Regions from separate parts of the Homo sapiens genome. Here regions 1 and 2 are each linked to region 3. The links are contacts of gene promoters, found by promoter capture Hi-C in blood cells and fetal thymus (Javierre and others, 2016). All regions are on one chromosome and are shown on one strand. Each heading gives the region's core, a stretch centred on a gene start or on the middle of the fragment in contact. The rest is flanking DNA. Distances are from core to core; before and after follow the strand shown.

Region 1 (3,662 bases), core at 539-3,038, 46 kb after region 3:
CTCCAGGCTGATGAAGACTAGGAGAGCAGAGGTCAGGGATGGGCCCCTTCATAGGGGCTCAGGGCCTTTCTGTTCCTCCATTGCTTTCTCCGGCCTGGCCCGCTGTGTGAGGCTGGCCGGCAGACATCTGTCTCTCTCTCAATTTTAAAAAATTTTTTTAGTAGGGACAGGATCTCACTGTGTTGCCCAGGCTGATCTCAAACTCCTGGCCTCAGGCGATCTGCCCACTTCGACCTCCCAAAGTGCTGGGATTGCAGGGGTGGCATCTGTTGGCCTCAGGAAGCAGGCCCAGGCTGCACTCCTGCCCTTGTCCCCCACCTTCCCCGGCAGGCTGGTTTGGCGGTCCTGCCCTCTCCACCCCCACTCTCCCCCATGGGGGAACACAGGCATCAGTGGAGAGTTGCCCATTTTTCAGAAGCGGGATGACAAGCCCCTGCTGCCTTTCACCAATGCCCGTGAATGCACCTGCTTGGGAATCCTCTTTGGAATCTCCCTGAGGTCTTCTGCCCCTCCCCGTGTCTCCCTCATTAAACCACATTTTCCCACAATGAGAACGTGCCATGATGTGCGTTGATGCAAAGCAGGTCTTTATTCAATCTTGTGATGTTTCCGTAGCCAATGCCTTACTGCAGTGCCGTTTTCCATGACTTTTCACGTGAATTACAACACTTTAATTCCATTCCAGCTTAAATTGGCTGTGTTGGGTCAGGTAGAAAAGCCCACTGCCCTGGGTGACACTTTTATGGTTGGGGAAGTGGCTCTTGTCCTGGCTGAGTTGTGTCCTTGCCTCAGAATGTGACTTCACATCTTGAAGTCCTAACCAGCAGTACCTCAGAATGTGACTGGGTTTGGACCCAGGGTCTTTACAGAGGTGACTAAGGTTAAATGAGGTCACTGGGTGGGCCCTAACCCAATGTGACTGTGCCCTTATAAGAAGAGAAGATTAGGGCCAGGTGCAGTGGCTCATGCCTGTAATCCCAGCACTTTGGGAGGCCAATATGGGTGGATCACCTGAGGTCAAGGGTTCAAGACCAGCCTGGCCAACATGGTGAAACCCCATCTCTATTAAAAATACAAAAATTAGTCAAGCGTGGTGGCACACACCTGTAATCCCAGCTACTTGGGAGGCTGAGGTGGGAGAATTGCTTGAACCCGGGAGGTGGGGGCTGCAGCGAGCGGAGATTGCGCCACTGCACTCCAGCCTAGGTGACTGGGCGAGACCCTGTCTCAAAAGAAAAAAAAAAGATTAGGATGCAGGCACAGAAAGACGACCATATGAGGCAGGGAGGAAATGACAAGCCAAGAAGAGAGGCATCAGAAGGAACCAACCCTGCCGACCCCTTGATCTCAGGCTTCCAGCCTCCACAGCTGCGAGAAACGCACTTCTGTTGTTTAAGTCCCCAGCCTGTTATAGCAGCAGCTTGGGCAGACTCCGACTGCACTGCTTTATCCTCAGCCGAGCCCGAGGAGGAGGAGACAATCCCCAAACTCGATCGTTTCCTATCATTATGATCACCGATTATTCTCCTTTTGACTCACCCGACCTTCTGTGCAGAAGGGCTGGGAACACTGAGAGACGGGAGCATTTACCCACATGTGTTCACGTGCACGTGCAGCCACAGCTCCCAGCCCTGCTGTGAAAGTGAATCACTATGGCCCCGGTTAGCAGCGTTTGCCATGTGCCTGCCACATGGCCAAGGGCTGTCTTCACTGTGAGTCCCTGAAGTGTCCATGGCCAGCACTCTGCAGGCGATGACACTGAAGCCCAGAGGGTTGAGGAGCTTGCCTCGCCTTTCTTCCTTCCTTTCTTTTTTTTTTTTTTTGACATGGGGTCTTATTCTGTCACCCAGGCTGGAGTGCAGTGGTGTGATCATGGCTTACTGCCTCCCCAGCCCAAGCGATCCTCCCCCACAGCCTCCTGAGTAGCTGGGACTACAGGCACATGCCACCACACCCAGCTAATTTTTTAAATTTTTTTGTAGAGATGAGGTCTCACTATGTTGCCTAGGCTGGTCTCAAACTCCTGGGCTCAAGTGATCCTCCAGCCTCAGCCTCAGCCTCCCAAAGTGCTGGGATGACAGGCGTGAGCCACTGTGCCCAGCCTGCCTCACCATTTTTAATCGGCACAGCCAGGATTTGGTTTCAACTAAGGCAGCTTGGTGCCATCACTTCTATGCTACAACTTTTAAAAATATTGTTTTTTAAAACATTTTATTTACATTATATACTTTCACACCTATGACCATCTGAAACTTTTTTTTTGAGATGGGGTCTTGCTCCGTCACCCACACTGGAGTGCGGTGGCATGATTTTGGCTTGCTGCAGCCTCCCACCTCCAGGCTTAAGTGATCCTCCCACCTCAGCCTCCAGAGTAGCTGGGACCACAGGTGTGCGCCACCATACCTGGTTAAGTTTTTGTATTTTTGGTAGAGATGGGGTTTCGTCGTGTTGCCCAGCCTGGTCTCGAACTCCTGAGCTCAAGCAATCTGCTCTCCTCAGCCTCCCAAAGTACTGGGATTACAAGTGGGAGCCATTGCACCCGGCCTGACCATTTGAAACATTTTAAAGGTGGCACTGCTTCTTGTAAGAAGAGATCTTAGGTGGCAGGGGCAGGGCTGGGATGTAGGTGCTCTCATGGCAGGATGCACTGGGGATGGAAAGCAGCTGCCACCTGTCATGGACATGCACCTCCAGTCACCCCTGTCTGCCTCCCGCCCTGCCCCCAGAAAACAGGAAGCAAACTTCCCCGGCCTCCTGTCAGAGTGTCTGTGGGGAAGCGATTCACGTGGGGGCATGAGCACTGTCCCCAGGCCCAAGGATTGTGGCTGGGGTGGGGCAGAGAGGGATGCTTTGGAGGGCTGCTCTCTTCCCGCTGTTCCTCTGCACCCCCTTCACATTTTTGTAACCCAAATAAAGATGGGCACCCATGGTCCACCTCCGCACAGGCCCAGGAAGAAAAAAAACAAAGTCAGATCCAAGTTCACTTCCTAAAATAGCCTTGAAAAGCAATTTAGGTCCTTCTTAAATTTGTTCTAGGGGGAACCAAAGTGCAATTATGTTCACAATCTAGAGAAAAATGTCTTGAAACCTCTTTCCTCTCCCGTTCTCAAGGCTCCCAGCCTACATCTGCTCTCTTCTTGCCCATTCTCATCCCTGTCCCCAAAAAATACGGGTCCTCTGGCAGGTGGCCTGCTCTTTGGAGCTCAAACACCATCCTTGGAATAGGGCATGTGACCAATGCTAAGTCATCTTTTCCATGCACACAAAATTATCAGAAAGATGAAAAGTTTGCTCAAAGTCACTCAGCTAAAAAGGGGTCCAGTCAAGATCAGAACCTGCTGGGCATCGTGGCTCATGTCTGTAATCTCAGCACTGTGGGAGGGCGAGGTGGGTGGACCACTTGTCAGGAGTTCAAGACCAGCCTGGCCAACATGGTGAAACCCCGTCTCTACTAAAAATGTAAAAATTAGCCAGGTATGGTAGTGGGCGCCTGTGATCCCAGCTACTTGGGAGGCTGAGGTAGGAGAATTGCTTGAACCTGGGAGGTGGAGGTTGCAGCGAGCGGAGATCGCACCACTGCACTCCAGCCTGGGAGACAGAGCGAGACTCCGTCTAAAAAAAAAAAAAAAAAAAAAAAAAAGACTCAGAACCTGCCAAGGCTG
Region 2 (3,678 bases), core at 365-2,864, 62 kb before region 3:
CCTGTACTCCCAAAGGTGGAGGACTGCTTGAGTCCAGAAGTTCAAGGCTGCAGTGAGCTGTGATGGCGCCCCTGTACTCCAGCCTGGGAATAGTGTGAGGCCCTGTCTCAAAAAAAAAAAAAGAAAGAAAGAAAGAAAATGACAATGGCAACAAAATGACAACATGACAACAGGAGTAACTGAAGCTTAGAGCTTATTATGTGTATGTCAGGCACAATCCTAGGTGCTGTGCCATTAAATTCACTTAATGCCTATAACCACCCGTGAAGAGAGCATCCCTGTTTCCCTGTCTTATACAGGAGGAAACCAAGGCACAGAGAAGACACGCCCAAGGGCACACGCCTCATGAACAATGTTGTTCTTCCAACCCAGGCAGCTCACGGGCACCGACATTCTGAAACACTGCTGATGCAGGTTAACAACAATGGGAGCTCCCAGCATATGACATTTTAATAACTGGGTTTTTTTTTTTTTTTTTGAGACGGAGTCTCTCTCTGTCTCCCAGGCTGGAGTGCAGTGGCACGATCTCGGCTCACTGTAAGCTCCACCTCTCCGGTTTTACGCCATTCTCCTGCCTCAGCCTCCTGAGTAGCTGGGACTACAAGGCATGCACCACCTACGCCCGGCTAATTTTGTTTTTTGAATTTTTAGTAGAGACGGGGTTTCACCGTGTTAACCAGGATGGTCTCGATCTCCTGACCTCGTGATCCGCCCGCCTCGGCCTCCCAAAGTGCTGGGATTACAGGCGTGAGCCACCACGCCCAGCCGTAACTGGGTTTTTTTTTTTATTTTTTTAAAGTTCAAAAGAAAAAGCTTGAGGATAAAAGATTAATGCAAAATTCTGAGTATCAATCACTCCTTAGGTGGGGGGCCCATGCTCAGGGAAGGCACACCAGGATTCAGAGGTCTGATGAAGCCCTGTTTCTGAAGCTGGTACCTGAGAGTCCTGGTCATTACTGTCTATCAGCTGTAAAGGCACACCATATACTCTCATGGAAATGATCATTCCAGTGCTCACTTCCGCAGCACATATGCTCAAATTGGGATGATACAGAGAAGATTAGCATTTTCCCAATAATCTTAAAAAGTAAAAAAAAAATTTTAAATAATTTTAAAAGGATTAAATGATCATTCCATACTTTGAAAAAAGTATAATTTATTGCCAAGCTTCCTTCTGGAGATAAAATTACTTTTGTATTTGTTGAATTATTGTGCTGTGGCTTTGATCTGTAAATAAAATATCAGGCTTTATCCATAATTGTTACCTCTGATAAACTTTTTTGAATTAGAGCATGTTTAAATTCACAAAAGTCAATTCAGATCAGGAGAAAAATATGTAGAGTTTGAATCAAAGCTATAATCTTAATTGTCTGTGAAGAGCAGTTAAAAAAAACAGATAACTAACCTTAAATTGACCATTAAAATTTACTTTTAGCCTTAAAAAGAAAAAAGGAAAACTCAAATCATGTATCCTACCAACTGGGTGGACGTCTTTCTACCCTACAGAGGTATTGGTGACTTGTGGATCTGAATTGTCAACTTCTGAATAACTTTTTTGGGAATGAAGTCAAATCCTAGTGGCTATATTTTGTTGAATGGAGGAATTATTTCTGATCTAGCTAATCATTTTCTTATATAGATCTTAATGCAACCTTCAGTTATATATTTGTCATTTATTTGTTGAATGCCTGTTTCATCCATAAAAGCAGGGAATGCTAATTCCTCTGCCAGTGCCTAAGCTCAATCAACATTAGCTGAATGAAGGAGAAGGAAGCTCACCCTGAGCTTTGCTGTTAACAGCACAGCCAGAGCAGGAGGGCTTTGCATCTGGCTGGGGCAGGTAATGGGGAGGCAAGGCCGGCCCCAGCATGTGGTGGCCACTGGTCTGGGCAGCAGTGAGGCCCATCAGGGGTGCAGTGCCTCCAGTCACTGAGGAAGTTCTAGCCTGGCCTCACAGAGGATAGTCCCAGCAACAGCTCAGGAGACAGAGACACTTGGCTATCAGAGATGTCATTAAGCAAGGAGACAAAGGACACCCCACGAACTGTAATAGAAGCTTGGACTCTAGGAGAAGCTTTGACTGAGCTCTTGACCTAGGCCCTCCAATCCCACAGACATGGAGCCTCTGACCTTGTGCCAGAGCAGGCGAAGGGTCCCTGCCGGGACAACAAGGTGGAGCCAGGGCAAATCTCTCTAAAAGAGGAAGGTGCTCCTGTGTGCCAGCACTGAAAGGCCTGTGGAGCCCCAGGCACCCATCAGTCCTGCTGTGGGAAGGGCTGATGAGCTGCTGTCAGCGTCACCACAAACCAGAGGTGCGGTTGGGCTTTTCCTTCCCTTTATTCGGGACACACCATAAAGCTGCCACTGGACACTGTCTGCTTTTCACTAACAAGGTGGTCCCCGTACATCAATCTGGCACATTATTTCCTTAGATTAAATCCCTAGAAGTGCAGCTGACAAGTCCAAGGGTACATACGAGTTACAGGTAGTCTACGTGGCTGAAGGACCAATGAAAGGTGTGCAAATACACACACCCTCCAACAAGAGAGCCTGCTCGCTCTCTGTCACACACTCCTCCCCCAGCCACCAAGTATCTACCTTTGTGCCTGCCAATCTGGTGAGTGGTAAGCCACACTTCATGGTCTTCTGCGCCTTTCTCTGGTTACTGATGAGAGTGAACATCTCCTCAGATATTTACTGCCCACCTCTATTTCTCCTTTTATGAATCACCTATTTGTAGCCAATGCCACATTTTTCCAGAGAAGTATCCGTCTTTTTTATAATGAATAGTAAGGACTATTTACATACCAAGGATGTTAATCCAGTTGATCATTTCTTCTTCCATTTTGTGTTTTTAATTTTTACATGGTCAAATCTGACAATCTTTTTCCTTAAGACGTCTGGCTTTTATATCAGGATACCATCTGTTCATCCTTATAAGGCTTTGCTAATCATCTGACTTCCCAGAAGACGGCAAAAGGGACAAGAGAGCTTCCTATTCTGGACCCATTTCTGACTAAGGCAGGGACAAGACAGGGAAGTAGAGTATGGCCCCCCAGAAAGTGAGCCAGGTGTCCTCACAAGCACAGGAGGAAGCGGGGCAGTGGGGGCCTGGGCCAAACACATTTATAACCTGCAACCAAAGATAGTGGAATTTTAATGTTTCAATACGTAAAGGACAGATACTTCAAAGGGAAGATGCTTTTTTAAAAAGGTATGTCTGGTAAAATGTATTTTTAACCATCTGTGAAAAACGAGGCTGATATTGAAGAAGGAGCAGTATATACAAAAATGAAATGGGCAAATGGGCACTAACTGTACTTGTGAAGAGAAAGGCATCCGGCCCGGCGCGGTGGCTCACACCTGTAACCCCAGCACTCTAGGAGGCCGAGGCGGGCAGATCACAAGGTCAGGAGATTGAGACCATCCTGGCTAACACAGTGAAACCCAGTCTCTACTAAAAAATACAAAAATTAGCCGGGCGTAGTGGTAGGCGCCTGTAGTCCCAGCTACTCGGGACGCTGAGGCAGGAGAATGGCGTGAACCTGGGAGGCGGAGCTTGCAGTGAGCTCAGATCGCGCCACTGCACTCCAGCCTGGGCAACAAAGCGAGACTCCATCTCAAAAAAAAAGAGAAAGGGATCCTGAGGTAAGATTTCCAGCAGCCACAGTTTACACA
Region 3 (4,038 bases), core at 262-2,761:
GGCCCCGATCAGGGCACAACAAAGTCCACATCCCACTCTTCTACAGAATGCCAGTGCCCAGGAACCTCCTGCTCGGCACAGGAGTACGCTGGTTGACCGACCATCTTTGGAGCCCAGCCCCTTTTACGTTCAGCAGTAAACCTGCCCCTTCCTGCACTGCCTACTACCTGAAAGGCAGGTATGTCCAGGTGGGGGGTCCTCAAGCCCCACAGCACTAAGCTTGGTGTGATTCTGTCTCTCAATCTCTCTCTCTCTCCCACCTCTATGCTCCCCCTTGCCTTCATCTCACTCCTCAGCCAGGATTCCTCTGCACCAGGCAGGCCAGTTTCCTCTTTGTTCCTTCACAACACCCTGTTCATTTCCAGAAGCTTCTATTCAGTCTGATACCCAGGTCTAGAATGCCCTCCTTCCCTTCACAAACGAATCCTACCCCTTCCTTAAGGGGAAGATTCCTACCTACATCCCAACATCTCCTCCTCCAAGAAGCTTTCTCTGGCTATTCCAACCCATCCTGCCCCCACTTCCAGGCGGTCGGGAATGCAGAGTGGGGGGACCCAATTCTCTCCTGTGACAGATGAGGAAACTGAGCCCAGGGAGGGGAAGGCCACACCCAAGATGACACACCAGCAGAACTAGGTCTGGAACCAAGACTCTGCTGCACTAATTGTTCCAAGATGCCCTTCCTTCCTCGTCTCCTTTGCTGTGGTAAAAATTTTCCAAACTAGCCTGGCCGCCCCCAGTTGTAGGTAAGCGTCCATACTTACTCTTCCCGCTGCAGGTACGAGGACCGGGCGCGAGTTGTCACTCCCCTCACCTCCCCCGCTCCTCACGGCCTAGCGCGACTCCTGCCCCGATCGGGAGTCCAGTCCCGGTTTCTGCGGCCACGTCGGGCCGGTGACCTTGGCCAGGCGCTGGACGCCCCGCTTCCTCCGTACAAGGCAGGCAGCCGATCCCGCGAGTGGGGCGTGAGCGCGGCCAGGTCTGTGCCACGCTCGGCCCAGGGCCTGGTTCACACCAGGTGCTCGGCGCGGGCCGTCCCCCGCCGCCGCCGCCGCGGTCACTCACTGCCGGGCGAGGCCAGCGCCCCGGCCGCCGACGCCGCCTCCGACCCCCGGCTCGCGGCCCGCGGCCCGCGGCCCCTTCCCATTCACGCCGCTCGGCCTCGCGTCCGGGTGCCCGCGCCCGCCAGGCCCCCGGCGTGAGGAACCCGGCGGGCCCGAGGCGGCCCCGCCACCGCCCGCGCCCTCCGCCCGGCCCGCAGGCCAGCCCGTGCACCGGCGGCCGCACCTCGCCCCGCCGCAGAGCCGCACGGTCGCTCCTCACCTGGGCTCCCCGAGACAGGCGAGGCGGGCCCGGCGCCCAACACCATGCCCGGTCCGGGCGGCTGCTGCGAGACGCGGCCCCTCACAGCCGCACCGGCTCCCGGCGGCGGGACCGGAAGTGGCGGGGCGGGGACTCGGCCGCTCTCGCCCGCGGCAGCCGAGACAGCAGCGGGCGCTTTAAAAAAAAAATTCAAAGTCGCGAAAAACTTTATTTGGAACCAGACACGCGAACAGCGGCGTGCGCCGATCGGGACTGGGCTGGGCGACGGGCCTCTCGGACCTCGCTCATTGGCAGAGGGCGCGGCCAGGGGGCGGGCACGGATTTCGCAACCGCCGCTGATTGGCGAGTAGCGTTAGGGGCGGGGATTCCGAGTTGGCTCTGGAGCCCGAGCGCCGGAGGGCTGGGGGTTTTGCACCTGGTTCCAACACGGGTTCACTTCGTGGTCTGCAGGGTTTAGGGGCACGGAGGAGCCCGGGCTATCCTTCCCTGAAGGAGCGGCCTCCGTGGCTGGAGCTCCCGCTGTCCAGCGCCGCACCTGGAGTGCAAAGGACTGGACAGGCCCCCGCAGCCTGCAGTGCAGGCGGTGAGGGAGACCGGGCGGTCAGACACGCAAGCCACGACCAACCCCAAACCGTGTGCTGCGCCCACAGGCCCCACTGTTCTTGTCATGTCCCTTTTATTCCTTCTTTTCTCTCTTAAATGTGTTTAAAGTACCTTAAAAATCCATTTCAACTTGTCCTCTTTTGGGCGCCCAGATTCATCCCGCGCCCATTAGCGTCCTGTGTGATTGACGAGGGGCCGTCCTGGGCGTCAGGCAGGCCCCTGGAGGAGTGGGCCATTAGAAAGATGAGGTTCAGCATGGAAACGGTCAGAAAGAGACAAGGAGTTAGACTTTCATTTCGAAAAACCCCACTGAGAGGTTTCTAACAGTGGAGTGACTATCAGGTTTTCTTCCTAAAGGAGGCTGGCGGGCCCGGTGGCTCACGCCTGTAATCCTAGCACTTTGGGAGGCCAAAGTGGGAGGATCCCATGAGCCCAAGAGTTTAAGACCAGCCTCCTGATGGTGGCAAGACCCCATCGCTACAAAAAAAGAAAAAAAAAATTAGCCGCGTGGTGGCGCGCGCCTGTAGTCCCAGCTACTCAGGAGGCTGGGATGGGAGGATCACCTGAGCCCAGGAGGTTGAGGCTGCAGTGAGCCGTGATCGCACCACTGCACTCCAGCTTGGGTGACAGGGCAGACCCTGTCCCCATAATAATAATAAAGGCTTTGGCTCTAAGTGAGTCGGTGGGAATGGAGTCAGGAAAACTGGTCAAGAACACAACTCAGCCGGGCGCAGTGGCTCAGGCCTGTAATCCCAGCACTTTGGGAGGCCGAGGCAGACAGATCACCTGAGGTCAGGAGTTCAAGACCAGCCTGGCCAACATGGCAAAACCCCATCTCTACTAAAAATACAAAAAAGCCGGGCGTGGTGGTGCGCCCTTGTAATCCCAGCTATTTGGAACGCTGAGGCAGGAGAATTGCTTGAACCCAGGAGGCGGAGGTTGCAGTGAGCTGACACTGCACTCCAGTCTGGGTGACACAGCAAGACTGTTTCCAGAAAAAAAAGAAAAAAGAAAGAACACAACTTGTGTTATTTCTTGTGTTTGGGACCATGTCTCTCCCTTTTTTGCCCGGCTAACTCTCAAGTTTTCCTAAGCTAAGACACCAACTTCTGATAGGCCTCAAAGCCTGGGGGTGGGGTGGGGCAGTGCAGGTGCCCTCTGTGTCTTCCTTGGAGCCCTGCACTTCCCTCTTCCTTATTGTCATGGCCTGTTTCCCTGACTAAGCTCAGCTCCTCAGCCCTCCTCTTCCTTCTTCCTCCAGCGTCACCTCCTGCCACCCCCTTTCCCATCCTGGAACATGCAGGTGATTAAAACACATCTGCTGGATAGAGATTGCATGCGCTGGCGGCATGAGTCCTGGTGAGAGGAGATAAGGGCTTGAAGATTGCAGTGTGTGAAGGTGCAGCCGGAATGGCGTGAGCACTTGTCTTACTCATAAGCGTCACTGTCTGCAGAATGGATTGCACCACACATTGGCCCACGTAGGCCCAAATTCCACCGCTGTGGATGAATGAAGTCATTTCTAGCTCCATTTCATGAGGCTGCCTAATTCTTTCACTAAGACTTATTTAGGACTTCCTAGTTTATTAACTCAATTAATCCAAACAATAACCCCATGAAACAGGTATTATCCCCATTTTATAGATGAGGAAACTGACACAGAAGTTAAGTAGTCTGTTGGCAAAAAAGGTCAAACTGTAAAATATTTGAAGAGATTTTATTCAGAGCCAAATATGAGTGACGAAGGCCTGAGTCACAGCCTCAAGAGGTCCTGAGAACATGTGCCAAGGTGGTTGGATTACAGCTCGATTTTTATAAATTTTAGGGGTGTCAGAGGCGTTTGAACCAGAGCAACTCCATCTTGAGGCTAAGACCTACTGGGCTACATTCCCAGGAGGTTAGGCATTCTAAGTCACAGGATGACATAGAAGGTTGGCACAGGTACAGGTCACAAAGAGCTTGCCGTTAAAAGGATGCCATTAAGAAGCCGGCCAAAACCAAGATAGCGACGAAAGTGTTCTCTGTTCATCCTCACTGTTCATTACGCACTAGTTATAATGTATCTGTTGCTAAAAGACACTCTCACCAGTGCCATGACAGTTTACAAATGTC

Evidence for each region. Contacts are between HindIII fragments. The CHiCAGO score rates a contact against its expected background, and 5 or more counts as called.
Region 1: a contact is called between a fragment that was not itself captured here and the fragment with the promoter of UBE2F-SCLY in region 3, in 2 of 17 cell types (megakaryocytes and non-activated CD4 T cells). The highest score is 10.3, in megakaryocytes.
Region 2: a fragment that was not itself captured here is called in contact with the fragment with the promoter of UBE2F-SCLY in region 3 in 1 of 17 cell types (activated CD4 T cells); the score reaches 5.4 in activated CD4 T cells.

Annotation. Positions count from the first base shown.
Region 1 is chr2:237,918,838-237,922,499 of GRCh38, reverse strand. No RefSeq gene overlaps it. Among named protein-coding and RNA genes, the nearest start is that of UBE2F-SCLY, 46 kb to the left of the region's middle. The HindIII fragment of the contact is 7,029 bases long and covers 1-3,662 here.
Region 2 is chr2:238,026,396-238,030,073 of GRCh38, reverse strand. All of the region lies in intron 6 of UBE2F (ubiquitin conjugating enzyme E2 F (putative)), which reads right to left. All of the region lies in intron 4 of UBE2F-SCLY (UBE2F-SCLY readthrough (NMD candidate)), which reads right to left. It also overlaps the pseudogene RNU6-1333P. Among named protein-coding and RNA genes, the nearest start is that of SCLY, 33 kb to the left of the region's middle. RefSeq lists an enhancer at 1,363-1,976. The HindIII fragment of the contact is 889 bases long and covers 1,170-2,058 here.
Region 3 is chr2:237,964,418-237,968,455 of GRCh38, reverse strand. It overlaps UBE2F-SCLY (UBE2F-SCLY readthrough (NMD candidate)), which reads right to left and starts at 1,511. Exons shown (of 19, transcript NR_037904.1): 1 at 1,324-1,511. It overlaps UBE2F (ubiquitin conjugating enzyme E2 F (putative)), which reads right to left and starts at 1,442. Exons shown (of 10, transcript NM_080678.3): 1 at 1,324-1,442. RefSeq lists a silencer at 1,219-1,398 and cis regulatory regions at 2,915-3,578, 3,905-4,038. The HindIII fragment of the contact is 5,181 bases long and covers 489-4,038 here.